Linked DNA regions of Homo sapiens: region 2 is linked to region 1. Evidence: promoter capture Hi-C in human tissues and cell types (Jung and others, 2019). All regions are on one chromosome and are shown on one strand. The core of a region is centred on a gene start or on the middle of the fragment in contact, and the rest is flanking DNA. Distances in the headings are between cores, read along the strand shown. Region 1 holds the start of NGLY1 (N-glycanase 1). Region 2 has its middle 64 kb from the start of NR1D2.

Evidence for each region. Contacts are between HindIII fragments. The study calls those that stand out against the background at their distance.
Region 2: a fragment that was not itself captured here is called in contact with the fragment with the promoter of NGLY1 in region 1 in 1 of the 25 tissues and cell types used here (dorsolateral prefrontal cortex).

What each region holds. Positions count from the first base shown.
Region 1 is chr3:25,781,967-25,786,039 of GRCh38, reverse strand. It overlaps NGLY1 (N-glycanase 1), which reads left to right and starts at 2,597. Exons shown (of 12, transcript NM_018297.4): 1 at 2,597-2,780. The coding sequence starts at 2,650. RefSeq lists a silencer at 2,408-2,647 and enhancers at 2,958-3,007, 3,168-3,247. The HindIII fragment of the contact is 13,519 bases long and covers 1-4,073 here.
Region 2 is chr3:24,006,861-24,011,060 of GRCh38, reverse strand. No RefSeq gene overlaps it. Among named protein-coding and RNA genes, the nearest start is that of NR1D2, 64 kb to the right of the region's middle. The HindIII fragment of the contact is 4,726 bases long and covers 1-4,200 here.

The sequences.
Region 1 (4,073 bases), core at 1,348-3,847:
ATAGTGATTCACTATTGTGTGACTACATTGAGTGATTAACCAACAACTCTATTCAGTACCTGCTGTGTGCAAAGCAGTCTGAGACAGATGGCACAAGAGACTTTTAATCAAATAGGGAAGACAAAACTAATGATAACTTACAGTGAGATAGCGTTTTAGTTGAGGAAACAAACTATTATGAAGAGAAAAACAAAAGTCATTTTGTTCCCCCACAAAAGTACCCTATGACCATTCTATCTGTCAGGGGAAAGCCTTAGCTGACAGCTTTCTGCCCTTCACTTGACACCTCTGCTTCAATACCAGAGCATTTCCACTTTGGTGTTTTGTATATAGACAATCTTCCTATGTTTTTGTTTTTGTTTTTTTTTTGTAGAGATGGGGTCTTGCCATGTTGCCCAGGCTGGTCTTGAACTCCTGGGCTCAAGCGATCCACCTACCTCGGCCTCCCAAAGTATTGGGATTACAGGCGTGAGCCACCATGTCCAGCCCCTAAAATTTTATTTGAAAAAAAAAAAAAAGTTCTGTTGCATTTTTAAAAGTTACAAGTACTGTATAATATATACTATTCTCATATAATTAGTAAAGGATAAATAAATGTATCAATGGAAAAAGAAACCCAAATTAAGAGGAATAAAGTTTGTGATAGCTATATCTCCAGACCCAAGCCCCCAATCCATTGTGTAGTTGGACGAGACTACATTTCCCAGACTCTCCCCTTTTATCTTTTTATGTGTTTTTAAATTTTTTTTTTATTTTTTGTAAATCTGGCCTTACTGAAATACCCCCTTTTATCTTGATGAGGCCTCATTCTTAGTAATGATATGGTAGAGAAAATGCTGTGTGTCATTTCTGGGCTCATGTGGTTAAAAGTAGGTGTGACTTTTTTTTTTTTTTTTTTTTTTTTGTCCAAGCAGGCTGCCTGGATTTGTAAATAAAATTTCACTAGAACATAACCATGCCCATTTATTTTCAAGTATTGTCTGTGGAGCAACAGCTGCAGAGGCAGAGTTAAATAGTTGAGACAGACCTTATGGCTCACAAAGCCTAAAACACTATGTGGCCCTTTACAGAAAATGTTTCTTGACCCCTGTTCTAAGGTATGGAAGGAGACTGGGTCCACTGACATTATGACACCTGCATTATTAAAGTGTTATATGAGCCAGAAAGAAATTACTCTTGTGTTAAGCCCCTGAAAATTTTAGTTACAGACGGTAGTAACATACTACTATCTGTTGAACACACCATACTTGGAAGGTGGTCCAAAGATTTACATATTTATTAAAAGCGTACGTATATTTGGGAGACGAATAGTCATTGAACTGGATGTCATAGCTTAGGGTCTTGTTCGGAGATTCTGGAAGAAAATTTCAATTCTTAAAAGTAAACAGATGAAACATCAAGAAATTTAAAAGAGGTTATTCAGGCAAATCACTTATCTTAAGAAATAAAGTCAAGAAAAATACTTCGTGAGGTTGAAAAGGAATTTCTGCAAAGAAGGAAGCCACTGGTAAAGTACACTTTCAAGAACATGGTGGGGAAGAGACTGGATTAAAGTAGTAAGGGATGCATCTTCTAAGAGGAATAAAAGACCTTGATCACATGATCTACCTAAAAAACAAGTCACAAAATATTACTTACCCTTACTGTGTGGGATGCAAATTTTTATTCCCTTCCCGCCCCCGACATTCTATAATATTGCGTAATTATTATGCATGTGTTTTACGCTGGTCACCACGCGGTAAACCGAATCCACAACCCATTATTATGTCGCAACCTATGGTTTAAAAATACACTTCCTTACAGAGGAATCATATACTAGTTGAGCTGGAACTTAGATTTTCAGTCATTAGCCAAATTCTGAAAAGAATCCATATAACAAACCCAGCAGAGTTTATAGCCATGGTTTTGTTTTTGACGTTTGTTGCTCCTTCCTTCTGTAGTCTTTCATCCACATCTATGTAGAACGTCCTGACAATCTGCGAAGAGAAGGCTCTAAGGTGGTTTTATTTGTGGGGAAAGGAGGGAGGTACATGCGGTTTCTCCACCTTAATAGCTGGATCAATTAGGCTGGCCCCGGAGCGCAAAGGGATCCGGGTTTCTGAGAGGCACGTGCCAGCACCATTCGCCCGATACCTCTAGACCAAAGCCGGCCTCCCCTCCAGCCGAGCTCCTCCGTCCTAAAGGACTCGACATCCCCCTCCTCCAGGCCCACACCCCTCAGCCCCGGAGCCCAGGCCCCGCCTCTCCCTGCGGAACCCCTTCCCAACCTGTACGACCAGGCCCCAACTCTGGGTCGAAGCACCTCGCCCCTGCCGGCCGAGGCCCCCCACCTTCTTCCGAACAGCCCCTTGCCCCCCGCGAAGGGGCAGCCGTAGCTCCCAGCCGAGCTCCCCCGCTCCTGGCCCCGGTCCCCGACCCCGCCCCAGGCCCCCGACCCCGCCCCTGCCGGCCGAAGACCCCGCCCCTGCCGGCCGAGGACCCCGCCCCTGCCGGCCGAGGACCCCGCCCCTGCCGGCCGAGGACCCCGCCCCTGCCGGCCGAGGACCCCGCCCCTGCCGGTGGCTGCGGTAGCTGCTGCGCGCTGAGGCGCCTGCTCAGTGTGGGACGCGGAGAGCGAGGGGCGGCGGCGGCGCCCGCTGGCGCTCAAGCATGGCGGCGGCGGCATTGGGCAGCTCCTCAGGCTCGGCGTCCCCGGCCGTGGCTGAGCTCTGCCAGAACACCCCGGAGACCTTTTTGGAGGCCTCCAAGCTGCTGCTCACCTATGCTGACAACATCCTCAGGTGCAGGGCAACGGGGTCGGACGGCGGGTACCGGGGTGGGTGGGCCGCGGCACCTTGTTCGGCCAGGGACTGGGGCGTCCGGCCTGAGCTTCAGAGGGCAGCGACGCCCGGACAGACCGGGACCTGGAGCTGGTTCTGCTCCTAACGTCCGAGCCCGCCGGCCAGGGGCCTCGGGACCCGGCCAAGTCCCACCCCCGCTCGAGAAAAGGAAGTTTCTTTGCAGTTGTGACTTGGCACCTGCAGTCAGGGTGCTGCGGGTGAACTGGAGTCCCGGAAGCGGGGCCGGGCGGAGGAGAGGTAGGAAGGCGTGCTTCAGACACTGCCGCTCTTCTCGTCGTTTAACGGCCTCAGATATCGGGACACAACGGTAACCGCACCGCGCGTGTCATTCCCCCTGCGTGCATTTTTCGAGCGGAGTGGCTTACATTTCCACATACTTATCAGAAGTTACTCACTGACAAAGTGATGTTTTCTTCCCATGTTGAGACTATCCGAGTACTAAAGCATAATGCTTCTGAAGTGGTGGGTTTTAAAATTTTTAATTTTTTTTCTGCCCACTTTTGTTGATTGAAACATTATAGTATTTTGAAGTTACAGTTTTTATATTAATACCTGGATTCTACTATGTAACATAACCCTTTAAGAATTCGTGGAGGTAATCGCCTTGGATGAGAGTAATTTCCTTCATTCTCCTGTCAGCAAAATTGCACTTCTAGAGGTCTAAGGGACCTTGCAGATTTTGGGAATTGGGAGGCAAGTTTGATTATTCATTTTGAATAAGTACCCACCTCAACTCTTCAGATCAAATGATCTGAAGGGACATGGTGTGGGGGGGTAGGGAAATGGAACTGAGGTTAAAGGAGAGCCACTTGCTTTAGGGGTGTTACCTCATTTATCAGGTCACCGTGATTAATTAGGTTCTCTGTTCCCCTCAGCCCCTGGTGCATTAAGTGTTTGGTATATTGTCATGAAGTCTAAAAGGAAATTCTCAGTTTCAAGGTTATAGGTTTCACGTGACCCAATTTTAGACATTAGTTACATGTGCAGTTTTTAAAATCCATGTCAGTAATATTTCATTTAGGCAATGGTAATGATTTTTAAAGTAAATTGAAGGGAAAATATATTGAGCCCTTATTTTGTGGCAGATGCTATGAAAGATGCAACATGTGGCCTGTTCACAGCTACATAATTGTGACCTGTGTGGGGACCACCTTCGTGCTCTGTGACACCTTCTCAACTCACCTTTTTTACTCTTTGAGGCCTTACAGCTCTTCACAGTACAAGGATGCCAAG
Region 2 (4,200 bases), core at 629-3,128, 1.8 Mb after region 1:
AAAAGCAGAAGTGACTGGTGAGAGAAGTTATGGAAGCTGCAAAATCCCTTGCAGGCTTGATTTTGTTTTGTTTTTTGAGATGGAGTCTCACTCTGTCACTCAGGCTGGAGTGCAATCTTGGCTCACTGCAACCTCGTCCTCCTGGGTTCAAGTGATTCTCCTGTCTCAGCCTCCCGAGTAGCCGGGACTACAGGAGCGCACCACCATGTCTGGCTAATTTTCGTATTTTTAGTAGAGACAAGGTTTCACCATGTTGGCCAGGCTGGTCTTGAACTCCTAACCTCAAGGGATCCACCCGCCTCGGCCTCCCAAAGTGCTGGGATTACAGGCATGAGCTACCACGCCCGGCCCTCCTGGGTATTTTTTATGATTTAAATGTTTTCATGAGTTTGCCCCACTAAGGTAAGAAAATGAACTAATGGATATCAGCAAGACTTTTAAACAGCAAGCTTTGGCTTGTAAACAGTTTGGGTTGAACCTGGAGTATACCAGGAAATTCAGTTAACTATAAAACGCCTTCGCTGACGTGTGAAGGCAAGTCTGATGGTAATTTTTTTTTAAGTGCAGCACATTGGAAATTCCTGAGGGGGCAACAAGATGTTTCCCCATGTGGCAGCTTAAAACTTCCTGGAGTATGTAGTCCTCACCTCTGAGAGTAACCTCAAAATCAGATAGGACTTCTACAATAGCAAATACTTCAGGTTAAAGATGATTAGCTGGATGCTTGGAAAAAGGGAGCTGAGGAAAAAGAGATACAGAAATGGTTCTAGAGAAGGAAGAGAAAAAATTATTTTAAAAAATAATTGCCACATGATCCAGCAACCTTAATTCTGAGTATATACCCAAAGGAAATGAAATCAGTGTATTTAAGGAATATCTGCATTCCCCTGTTCATTATAGCACTATTCGCAATAGGCAAGATGGGAAATCAACCTATCTATTAGCAGACAAATGAATAAAGATAATGTAAATAGTACGCACAATGGAATACTATTCAGCCTTTAAAAAAGAAGAAAATCCTGTCATTTGCAATAACATGGATGAACCTGGAGGACATTACATTAAGTGAAATAAGACAAACAAAGAAGGACAAACACCACATGATCTCACTTATACGTGGAATCTGAAAAAGGTGAATTCATAGAAGTAGAGAGGAGAACAGTGGGGTTTGTAGGGGGATTGGGGGGATGTTGGTCCAAGGTTACAAAATTTTAGGTAGACAGGAGAAATAAATTCAACAGATCCCCTGTACAACATAGTGACTATAGTTAATAACAATGTATTATATTCTTGACTATCACAAAAAAAAGTGTTCTCATCACCAGAAAAAAAAATGATAAATATGTGAGGTAATGTACATGTTAATTAGCTTGGTTTAGCCATTCCACAATATATACATATTCCAAACATGTTGTGTATGATAAATATATATAATTTTTACTTGTTAATTTAAATAAAGATATCAAAAACTGGATAAAGATGGCAAAGTGAACACAAATGCTATTCTCTATCATAACCCAAATACCTTTAAAGTGACAGAAAAAAACGTATTTTTAAATAATAACATTTATAACAATCTTGGCAAAAATAAACAGCATCGTTAACAGAAATCTTAAAGAATTCCTGGAAGTTAGGGAGAAATCAGATTTATAATGAAACCACAGCAACAGAAAACTGCCATCCGAAACACTAAGATGTTCGTGGAAAAAAAGGATGACAAGATAATGCACAAAGCAGGTATTTAATATTACTGACAGCGGATTAATATCCAGAATATATAAAGAATATCTAGGAATCAATAAAAGGCTGGGCGCAGTGGCTCACACCTGTATTCCCAGCACTTTGGGAGGCCGAGGCAGGTGGATCACTTGAGCTCAGGAGTTCGAGACCAGCTTGGCCAACATGGTGAAACCCTGTCTCTGCTAAAAATACAAAAATTAGCCAGGCATGGTGGTGTGCGCCTGTAGTCCCAGATACTCCAGAGGCTAAGGCAGGAGAATCCCTTGAACCCGAGAGGCAGAGGTTGCAGTGAGCCGAGATCACGCCACTGCACTCCAGCCTGGGAGACAGGGCGAGACTCTCTCTCTCAAAAAAAAAAAAAAAGAATCAATAAAGGTTTTTAAAGTACCCACAGAAAAATGGGCAACAAACACAAATAGGAATTTCAAAGACAAAACACAAATGCCCAATAAACATATTGGGACACAACCTCAGCAGTAATCAGAGAAATGCCAATTAAAAGCAATGCCTGCCAGGCATGGTGGCTCTCACACCTATAATCCTAGCACTTTGGGAGGCCAAGGCGAGCCTATCGCTTAAGGCCAGGAGTTCCAGACCAGCCTGGGTAACATGGTGAAACCTCATCTCCACTAAAAATACAAAAATTAGCTGGGTGTGGTGGCGGGCGCCTGTAATCCCAGCTACACAGGAGTCTGAGGCAGGAGAATCGCTTGAACCCAGGAGGCGGAGGTTGCAGTGAGCCAAGATCACACCACTGCACTCCAGCCTGGGTGACAGAGTCTCAAAAAAAAAAAAAAAAAAAAGGCTGCGCACGGTGGCTCATGCCTATAATCACAGCACTTTGGGAGGCTGAGGTGGGCAGATCACCTGAGGTCAGGAGTTCGAGACCAGTCTGAACAACATGGCAATACCCTATCTCTACTAAAAATACAAAAACAATTAGCTGGGCATGGTGGCACACACCTGTAATCCCAGCTACTCGGGAGGCTGAGGCAGGAGAATCGCTTGAACCCAGGAGGCAGAGGTTGCAGTGAGCTGAGATCACACCACTGCACTCCAGCCTGGGCAACAGAGTGAGACTCCGTCTAAAAAAAAAAAAAAAATTCTAATTGTATAAGATTATAGATCTGCCAAAGTCTCAAGAGGAGAGTTCAGTGCTCACACTTGATTCCCTTTCTCCTTTGAAATGAAAATTTCAAATAATACAAAGCACAAGGAAGAAAATAGTAACCTAAGGTGGAACATCTAAAAGCCAAACTGCAAATGAATGATATGGTAACAAAAGGAAAAGGTACCAGAGAAGCTGAAAGCAGTCTAGGGGTAAAGAGGAGGGGACAGTGTCTCTCCATTATACACACTAAGTCTCCTGACCTCAGGAAATAACCACGTGCTGCGGTTGGCTCCCATGATCCTTGCTATTGTTAAACACTGTATGGATGCATACGAGAGACAATAAGACAAGAAAAAATATATAAGATATAAATCATAGAAATAAAGAAGCAATGCTAGAAAATCTAGAAGCGGCACCCTAGAAAGCAACCTAGAAAATCCAACATAGCAACTAAAAATCTATGAAAATAATAGAATTCGGCAGTTTAGCCAGACAAAAGAACAAACAGAACAAATGAAACAACATAAAAGCTGGATGTAGTGGCTCATGCCTGTAATCCCAGAACTTTGGGAGGCTGAGGTGGATGGATCCTTTGAGTCCAGGAGTTTGAGACCAGCCTGGGTAACATGGTGAGACCCCGTCTCTACAAAAAATACAAAAATTAGCTGGGCATGGTGGTGCACACCTGTAATCCCAGCTACTTGGGAGGCTAAGGCAGGAGGATAGCTTGAGCCCAAGGGACAGAGGCTGCAGTGAGCCAAGATCATGCCACTGCACTCCAGCCTGGTTGCTAAAGCGAAACCCTATCTCAAAAAAAAAAAAAGAAAAAAATAGACAAGCACATTCTTATTTACCATTAATAAGCAATTAAAAATTGTACTATTTTATTTTATTTTATTATTTTTAGACAGGGTCTCACTCTGTCACCCGGGCTGGCTCACTGCAGCCTCTGCCTCCTGGGCTCAAGCAATCCTCCCACTTCAGCCACCCGAGTAGCTAGGACAACAGGTGCATACAACCATGCCAAGCAAATTTTTGAATTCTTGTAGAGATGAGGTTTCACCATATTGCCAGGCTGGTCTTGAACTCTTGGGCTCAAGTGATTCACCTCCCTCATCCTCCCAAAGTGCTAGAACTACAGGTGTAAGCCACCGTGCCCAAGCAGAAATTGTAATTTTTAAAATTCCATTCATTACAGCAACAAAAATTATAAAATGTCTGAGAATGCACCTGAAAAAGTGTACAAAACTGATATGAATAAAACTATAAAAATTCACTCCCAAACACAAAAGGTGGCCTGAATAAAGGGAAAAACATTCCATGCCCTTGAATGTGAAGGCTCACTTTTG